Linked DNA regions of Homo sapiens: region 2 is linked to region 1. The links are contacts of gene promoters, found by promoter capture Hi-C in blood cells and fetal thymus (Javierre and others, 2016). All regions are on one chromosome and are shown on one strand. The core of a region is centred on a gene start or on the middle of the fragment in contact, and the rest is flanking DNA. Distances in the headings are between cores, read along the strand shown.

What was found. The method cuts DNA at HindIII sites, captures the fragments that hold promoters and counts their contacts. A CHiCAGO score of 5 or more calls a contact.
Region 2: a fragment that was not itself captured here is called in contact with the fragment with the promoter of FBXL22 in region 1 in 2 of 17 cell types (total CD4 T cells and naive B cells); the score reaches 5.5 in total CD4 T cells.

Annotation. Positions count from the first base shown.
Region 1 is chr15:63,595,197-63,598,936 of GRCh38, forward strand. It overlaps FBXL22 (F-box and leucine rich repeat protein 22), which reads left to right and starts at 2,191. Exons shown (of 2, transcript NM_001367807.1): 1 at 2,191-2,549. The coding sequence starts at 2,197. All of the region lies in intron 1 of USP3-AS1 (USP3 antisense RNA 1), which reads right to left. The HindIII fragment of the contact is 9,685 bases long and covers 1-3,740 here.
Region 2 is chr15:64,117,286-64,123,018 of GRCh38, forward strand. SNX1 (sorting nexin 1) reads left to right here. Exons shown (of 15, transcript NM_003099.5): 3 at 832-959; 4 at 1,503-1,569. Among named protein-coding and RNA genes, the nearest start is that of SNX1, 24 kb to the left of the region's middle. The HindIII fragment of the contact is 1,582 bases long and covers 1,190-2,771 here.

The DNA of each region.
Region 1 (3,740 bases), core at 941-3,440:
TTCTTTTGGCAGCTGTGCTGGTCAGAGGCTGCGTGGTTGCTGTCACTGCTGCCAAACAGCATAGCTCTGGACAAGCCCAAAGGGGCAGAGCTTCGTCATCTCCTGGCTGTGCCTCAGACCCTCTGCAGCATGCAGGAGCACATTCCCCCTGGCCCTGGTAGTCTAGGATGCTTCCTGCAGCCTACCTGGAGGAACAGCAGAGGGGCAATGCTCTAAATGTTCTCCCTGCCAATCTTTTGCCATTCCAGCTGGGCTGCAGTAGTGCAACTTGGAAGCCATGCTGAAGCACAGTGACACTTACTCAGTGGAAGGCACAAGTACCACTCTGGCCTTGCAAGAAGTGGAAAGAACCACCTATTCCTAAGGGTCAAACCCTCTGAAAAGCATTGGTTTGAGGAGGATTGGGGAGGGAAAGTGGAGATAATGTGGCTTTCTAATAACACCACCTGTGGTTTTGCAGCATCCATTTTAAGTGGAGAAGTACACCTAGACAGAGCCTAAATTAGGGTGTCAGCTATAATTCAGAACTACATTGATGAGCTTGAAATAGCAGCAGTATCTTGCTCCCCTTCCTTGGGAAATGCTTCCTTTCGACCTCCTTGGTTTGTTTTTAAGAGAACCCCCTACTGTACTTCATCTTGGCATGGTGGAGTAATGGAGGCACAGGGGCACCAGCTGAGGCTGGCTTCTCAGGAAAGCCACTGACAATGGCTACTTCCTTCTTTGCTTGACTGCCTTCTGCTTTAAAGGCAAAGCTGCACCAGCCCTGACCAAACCTTAGTTCCAGAAGTGGGTTCAGCATAGGCTGCTTCATTTGTGTCTATGGGAAAACACAAGGATTCCCATTCCCTCTTATTCCAAATGGGAGAACAAACAGAAGTAACCACTGAGGTGGTGGTCCCTGGGCTGGCAGAGGAAAAACCATTCTCTTCTCACTATTGCCTAGGCAGAACGTGGCCTATACAGCTGCACCATATCAGCATCCCCCAAGCAAACCAAAAAACAACGACTGGGATTCAAAGCAGGAGAGTTAAGGTTGGGTCCTGGGTTTGGGAGTGAAGCAGCATGAGGAAACGGGTCTGCCATATCGTGAAGCCTCGGGTACTCAGGAAGGGGGAGCTTCACGGATAGTACCTCCAGGCACCTTGCCTAGAGTTGAGTCAGAGAGGGCAGGGGTGGCCCACTGGCTTCTCCAAGAGGGAACGGAGGGCACTCATAGAATGGATGGTGTGTGGTCAACTTAAAGGCAAAGATGGACTAAAATACTGAACTTAAAATTGTTTCAAGCAGTTTCACATTAAGAGCTACCTCATCCATCCTGACATTTTGGGAAGTACAGGTTATACATAGTACAAGGCCTTATCAGTGAGAAAATGTAAAGCCAAGTAAATTTAAATTTAAAACACAGAAAGTACTGCTTGACCAAAACTACAAAAACAACAACAACAACAACAAAGCACCAATAAAACATAAAACACAGACACACAACTTTGGAAAGCAGCTACTTCAGTAAAATTCTTTTATGAAACAACTCAGGGTAAAAATCTAGCTGTTGGGGAGGCCCAGGAAAATCCCCCTGCCTAGTGGCAGGCAGCAGGGCTTGAAGGCCAACCAGCCTAGCCTGGAGACAATTACTCTATGGCACAAAAATAACAGGAATGAGGCAGCAGCCATGGACTCTGCTCACAACTCACAACCGTCACCCTTAGCTCTCCACACGCAACAGGTTTCTTCCTAGTAAGGGTGGAGCAAAAGATTCACACTGATGTACTAGAAAATCAAAACAGTTAACATTTACAATTACACTCCTTCCCCCTAAGTACAGACTGCAAAGCCAGACAGAGCTGGCCTGGCCGCCACCACTGCCAATGAAAACGCCTTGGGAAAAGCCAAAAGTGCTCACTGCTAAACACCATTGTCAGCTAAAGGGAAAAAAAAAATCCCTTTTAAGGAAAGTAACTTCAATAGGCTCCTTTTCTGCCAGGACCTCCAATCCCTCTGAACATAAGCCGAACCACAGACTGCCGCACATGTGTCTGGGTCCTGGCTTTTCTTCCCTCACCCCTCCGCAGAGCTTCAGCACCAGTTGTTAGCCAAAAATAAACACCATTCCTCAACCATATATGTCCACCGGCCCAGAGTCGGGGAGGAGGAGAGGAGGCAGGTCAGCCGTCCCCCGGCTGCAGCTGCACTCACATGTGGCCACTGCTCACCATGCACATAACCCAGCTCAACCGGGAGTGCCTGCTGCACCTCTTCTCCTTCCTAGACAAGGACAGCAGGAAGAGCCTTGCCAGGACCTGCTCCCAGCTCCACGACGTGTTTGAGGACCCCGCACTCTGGTCCCTGCTGCACTTCCGTTCCCTCACTGAACTCCAGAAGGACAACTTCCTCCTGGGCCCGGCACTCCGCAGCCTCTCCATCTGCTGGCACTCCAGCCGCGTGCAGGTGTGCAGCATTGAGGACTGGCTCAAGAGTGCCTTCCAGAGAAGCATCTGCAGCCGGCACGAGAGCCTGGTCAATGATTTCCTCCTCCGGGTGTGCGACAGGTAGGCCACCTTGCCTCCTGAGCAGTGCTGGCCCCGCTAGCTCTGGCTTCCCTCTTGGGGGGCAGGGAAGAGCAAATTACGAGACCAAGATGGCTCCACCTTCGGGGCGCCTCAAACTAGGCCCAAGGCAGACATCCAGACCGCCCAAAGCAGGGTCCCCAGGAGACAATAAAATCATGAGGGAAACAATTGCTAATCCTCCTCTTAGCCTCACAGGTCCTGGGCTGCTTCATGCAAACACCAAGAAGTGGGGCCTCCGTACTGGTAGTCATTAAGTGCTGGGTGGGTCCAGCTGGGCCTGGATTTTCAAGGTCAGGCTCTGGGAAAAGGCTTCCAGATGCAGCAATCAGCTCACCCCTCCATTAGGCCTAGCAAGCAGCCCTCAAGGCCTGGGAAACTACGGAGGAAAGAGAGGGTGGGGAGCCAGAGGTGGAGAAGCCAGGGTGCTCAGGTCAGCTGAGCCAAACCAGACTCCAGGAGTAGATGAATTACTGATTTACACAGTATTCCTAAGGAGGGTGGCTTAGCCTAATTTTTCAAATTAGCAAACTGATGCTCCACGAGGTGGTATGATTTGCCCAGTCTAGGGTTGCCAGATTTTAGCAAATATATAGGCTGCCCAGTTAAATATGAATTTCAGATAAACAGTGAATAATATTTTAGTGTAAGTATGTCCCAAATACATCTTGTGTTTATCTGCTAACCCCCACCCCAGACACAGACATAGACACTGAACCACCAGGCCAGGCTCCCTCCATGGTCCCAGCCTCATGGGCAGAGCGGCCCAGGCAAGAACACAGAGCTATTCAACCAGCCTCTCACTGAGCTTCTGCCAGTCCCGTGCTGCCTTTGAGGAAAAACACCCCCTTGATCATATAACAAACTGGCCCTGGCTGTTCATGGAAAACTAGACTCAGCCAGTTTACTGCCACCCAAGTTCATAGCTGCTATTTGCTGGCAGCACGACAGGAGTGGAAGGAAACAGCGTAGTGACCCCACCTTTCTTTTGAGCTGGTAGGAAGAAAACAGAAGATGGACTTGGGGTTGGGCCCCGACTGGACAAGGCTATTTTGATGGGCTTAACAAGGCCCAGGAATTAGACTAGAGTGACATGGGTGGGGGTTGGGGGGAGGCGAATGGCACAACATGTCCTGAAGTTGTTCCATTCTTACTGTAAGAGAACCGAGCTTA
Region 2 (5,733 bases), core at 731-3,230, 520 kb after region 1:
CCTCTGTTGCCCAGGCTGAAGTGCAGTGGCGCGATCTCGGCTCACTGCAACCTCTGCCTCCCCAGTTCAAACAATTCTCCTGCCTCAACCTCCCAGTAGCTAGGACTACAGGCTCAGGCCACCACACCTGGCTACTGTTTTTTTGTATTTTTAGTAGAGACGGGGTTTCACCATGTTGCCCAGGGTGGTTTTAAACTCCTGAGCTCAGGCAGTCCTCCCACCTTGGCCTCCCAAAGTGCTAGGATTACAGGCATGAGCCGCCACGCCCAGCCTTTTACAAACAATTATAACAAGAATAAATAGGGCTCATATAATGTTCTAAAGGAATACTCCGAAGATTAAAATTGACAGACTAAATTAGCTGGCTGTGGTGGTATGCACCTGTAGTACCACCTATTCAGGAGGCTGAGGCAGGAGAATCACTTGAACCTGCGAGGTGGAGGTTGCAGTGAGCCCAGATCGTGCCACTGCACTCCAACCTGGGTGACAGAGTGACACTCTGTCTAAAAAATAAATAAAATTGATAAACTTATTTTGGCTGTGTTGTCTTTTTGCTTATCCTTGGTTCTTGTATAAATTCTAGGTAGGAGAGGGTAGCCAAGTGGTTGTATTTGGAAAGAAGGAGAGGTTGTTCTACTAAGCCTGTGCTAGAAGAACACTTCCCTTACCTTCCTCCCCTTTTCTCCTTGTAAACATTTTATGACTTTCAGTCTAAGAGCCTCTATGTATTGAGAGTGCTTGCTATTGTTCTTGTAAGTTCTTAGCCTATACAAGTTTAGCCTTCAAAGACTCATTACTGACCTTCATTTTAAAATATCAACTTCATTTTAGATGCCACAGTGGAGCTATCCTTGGACAGCACACAAAATAATCAGAAGAAGGTGCTAGCCAAAACACTCATTTCTCTTCCTCCTCAGGAAGCCACAAATTCTTCGAAGCCCCAGCCAACCTATGAGGAGGTGAGGATCTGTGCTCTTGGTCTTATCGCTTTTAGATATTGAGGACTGTGTACGGCCAGTCTGAAGTGTAGTTGAGTATGAACCTTGAGAAAATATTTGTTACTCTTGAAGGAGATCTTTATGGTTAATGGACAGCCAGAATCCAATACAGGAGTCTTTCTTGAGCAGAGTATCTATTGCCCAGAGAGCACGAAGGCTTTCAGTGGTTACTAAAGATACTTAGTGTGCGAAGCTTCCACATTCAGGAGTATAGTTTCTCCTCACTCCCTTCCTAGCCTGCAAGAGGCAAGTCTTTCTAAATCTGGCAGTTATTCATTGTCATCAAAATAAGATTTTAAGGGGATACATGTAACAAAGACTTGTAAGCTGGCTCCTAATTTAAAATTTTGAGAGTTGGTACATTGGGATTGTTGGGAATGGACAAAAGCTGAACACTGAAGGATACATCTTGATTTTATTAGATTGGTATAAGGTTATTACAGGGTAAAATTGATAGCTTTTTTTTTCATATCAACTCTCATGATTTGTCTTTTCTTGAAAAAGCTAGAGGAAGAAGAACAGGAGGATCAATTTGATTTGACAGTCGGTATAACTGATCCTGAGAAGATAGGTAAGTGGTTCTTAGGACTCCTTGTGATGTTAGGATGTGGCTGTGGAAAGCATAGGTAGCTAATTTCAGGATGGCTACCCCCAGAGTTGAACTAGCCAATGTGAAGTACTTCATTAGTATCTTTTCTGTAAAAGTAGACCCCTTGCTATGTTTCTAAGGCCAGAGACTGCTGTTACTCAATGCGTTAGTCAGTCTTTTCTTGGCTTCAGGAAGAAAAATCAGAGTCATCAAATACTACTAGAATCCCTTTTTATTTTTATTCTTTTGGTTTTTTGTTTTTTAGAGACAAGGCCTCATTTTGTCACCCAGAATGGAGCACAGTAGCACTATCATAGCTCACTATCATCTCCAGCTCCTGGACTCAAGCAGTCCTCCCGCCTGAGCCACCCCAGCCGCCCAAGTAGCTGGGACTGCAGGCACGTGCTACCATGCCGACTAATTCTTTTTTTAAGAGATGGGGTCTTGCTATGTTGCCCAGGCTGGTCTCAAACTCCTGGCCTCAAGTGATCCTCCTGCCTTAGCCTCTTAAAGCACCGAGATTACAGGCATGAGCCACCGCACCCAGCTAGAGTCTCTTTTTAAAAACCCCAACAGGCCAGCCATGGTGGCTCACACCTGTAATCCCAGCACTTTGGGAGGCCAAGGCAGGCAGATCACTTGAGGTCAGGAGTTCAGCCAGGCCAACATGGTGAAACCCCATCTATACTAAAAATGCAAAAATTGACCAGGCATGGTGGTGTGCGCCTATAATCGCACCTACTCAGGAGGCTGAGGCCAGAGAATCGCTTGAACCCGGGAGGTGGAGGCTGCAGTGAGCTGAGATCATGCCACTGCCCTCCATCCTGGGTGACAGAGCAAGACTGTGTCTTAAAAAAAAAAAAAAACACACACACACACACAAAAAACATTATCTTCTCCTTCAGAGTTGATAAGACCATTTTACTGTCTTTTGAGATAGTAAATCCAATGTAAGCACCCTAAAAAATACATGTTCTAAAATTGAGGGACACTGAACTTATTTTTTCCCTCAAGAAGTTTGAAACTCTCATTTATACACATACTTTTGATAACCTTATGAGGTGGGGAAGTCTATCTGTGGGATCCAAGTTGAATTGTACTCAAAATTGAAGTTAGATCTTCAAAAAGCATAACACTTAACTTTGTCTGGACTTGGATTTTTAGGATGGCTTTCCCCTCTACCAAGCTTGCAAGAGTTATCCCTGAGTGGAGAACAATAGGCCTCATCTTTCCTTGTTCTAGCTATAGTCCCTTATGGAAGAGGCTATACAGAACCTGTCTTCCTAAACAGGAGTGGTGTTTATACAGTTAAGAGGACAAATGTAATTCTCAACTCTTGGTCTGTTTGGTACTAGGGACAGGAACTTGTTAGACTTTATGCCAAAATGGTTGTCTTTTTTTTTTTTTTTTTTTTTTTGAGACGGGGTCTCACTCTGTCACCCAGGCTGGAGTGCAGTGGTATGATCACAGCTCACTGCAGCCTCGACTTCCCCAGGCTCAGGTGATCCTTCCACCTCAGCCTCCTGAGTAGCTGGGACTACAGATGTGCATCACCATGCCTGGCTAATTTTTTTATATTTTTTGTAGAGACAGGGTTTCACCATGTTGCCTAACCTGGTCTCTGGCCAAAATGGTGGTCATTAAACTATTGATTTTAGGCCAGGTGCAGTGGCTTACATGTGTAATCCCAGCAGTTTGGAAGGCCAAGGCAGGAGGATCACTTGAACCCAGGAGTTCAGGACCAGCCTGCCCAACATGGCAAGACCATGACTCTACAAAAAGTAAAAAATTAGCCCTGTCTCTACAAAAAAATAAAAAATTACAGAGGCATGGCGGTACATGCCTGTAGTCCCACGTACTTGGGAGGCCGAGGTGGGAGGATCATTTGAGCCTGGAAGGTCAAGGCTGCAGTGAGCTGAGGTAATACTACTGCACTCCACGTTGGGTAACAGAGTGAGATCCTGTCTCAAAAAGAAAAAAAATTTTTTTTTAATTTGAACTGTTGAGTTTTACTTTTCCCAGACTGTTGGACTGGTAGGATGTTTTTGAGCGTCTTACACAGTTCTGTCATCTAACAGAAAAGGAAATTGAGGACCAAAAAGGAAGTAGCTTTCCTGGTAGGGCACAGTGTGGCCCATGATAGATCCTGGACCAGGACTTTGGATTATATGTCTAGATTCTCTCTTGCTTCTCTAATATTTATGGATAGTCTATAAACACATTAATTTTAAGCTAGTTATTCACCGCTTTAAATCCTTGGTGGAATAAGATGAATGAATGGCACTTATTCTCTTAAAATGTAATAAGTCATGATGTCTGAACCAGGAGAGGGAACATACTGGTTTCCTAAGGCTGCTGTAGCAAAGTACCACAAACTGGTTAAAACAACAGAAATTTCTCACAGTTTTGGAGGCCAGAAATCTCAAATCCTGGTGTCGGCAGGCCATTCTCCCTGTGAAGGTGCTAGGGAAGGACTGTTCATGCCTCTCTCCCAGCTTCTGGCAGTCTCAGGCCTTCCTCGGCTTGTCGATGCATCACTTCAGTCTCTGCCTTTGCTGTCATGTGGCATCCTTCCTAAGCGTCTCCACATTGCCTTCCCTCTATGCATGTCTATCTCTGTGTGCACATTCCCTCTTTAACAAATAAGGACACCAACCTGAGTGGAGTAGGGCCCACCCTAATGTCTTCATTTTAACTCAGTTACATCGGTAAAGACCCTGTAAGATCACATTCTGAGGAACTGGGAGTTAGAACGTAAAATGTACCTATTTTGAAGGGGACACAATTTATCCCATTACAGAGAGTAATTTAAACAGCCCATGGATCAGATGCATTTAAACACAAATCACTCTTGGTGATAAGTTTTCACCTCCTTGCCCTGTAGTCTAGATTCTTAGTCATGTTGATGCCAAGAAACCAGCTAATTAAAATATTTTCATATTCAAGGCCTGATCTTTATAACAACGCATTCTGTTTGTGTGGGCTGTTTATTCAACATGTGCTTCTTGTTCCTGCACACGTCTAAATAATTTAGAATTCAACTTTTACCAGGATATGCTTTTTAGAGCCTTGGTAATTTGCATATGTTATCTTCAACTCTGAAATTATTCTGGAAATTTACGTAAATTTAAAACCTTGTATTACTAGCTTATTTGCAGATCTGTGTGCTCTCTATGTACATGCAGTATGTCTCTTTTCATGTACATTGCCTAAGTAAAAGCAGCTGAGAAACAAAATATCTGAAGATCCTGCTTTTCTGTTTTCTCTGTGTTTGCATTTAGACTTTCTTAACTGCAGGCACTAAATTATGGGATTGACTTCTTGGACATTTGACCATAACTATTCTGCTGTGAATGAAATTTTGAATATTACTTCTATAAAATAAACTTAGATTTCTTTTTTTTTTTTCTTTTATCAGTAGTAAACATCCTTAGTAGTATTGGGTAATGTTAATAAGGTGGTTTAGAAGAGAACTAAAGTTGGTAATCAGTATAAAATAATTTCTAAAGTTTAGCTTATGGTTTCTGTTTTATATACACCCTTTTGGTAGGGGCTGGGGAAGTATAGCAGACAAGCCCTGTATTCCTGTGTAATCTTCAAATTCTTGGTAAATTTTTCAAAAAGCAGGCATTTCCAGCCATCTTACTGAAACCAAGTTGTAATGTGGGAAGCTGCTGATCCAGTACTGCCTGCTCTTCCTTCCCTTGGCCCCTCACCCCTCACCCCAGAACCAGTTCAGGGGCTTAAGCAGCTGGTAACTGTTGACCTAGGTTTTCCGGTTTGATGTGGGAAGGAATCAAGGGTGGGGGAGGCAGGGAACAAAACCAACCCCAAACACCATAGTCCAGCACTGGAGCTGTGTCTGTTTGGATTCCAGAATATGTCTTTTCAGTGCTCAGGATATCAATGGCATCTTTATCTCCTTAAGTGGTCTAGGTCAGGACATCACCACAGAGAAAAACAATAGCTTGAATCCCAAATTATTTAACAGTCAAAGACTTCTTCATAAAAATAATTGCTCCAGGAAAGGGAGATTTGTGTGACATTAGGCAGCCAAAGTGTCTTCCTGCCAGACCCTTTGCTCTTGGTGAACATGCTAGATCAGAGAGGTCAGTGTCCCCCCCGGCACCAATGGAGGGGGTTGTG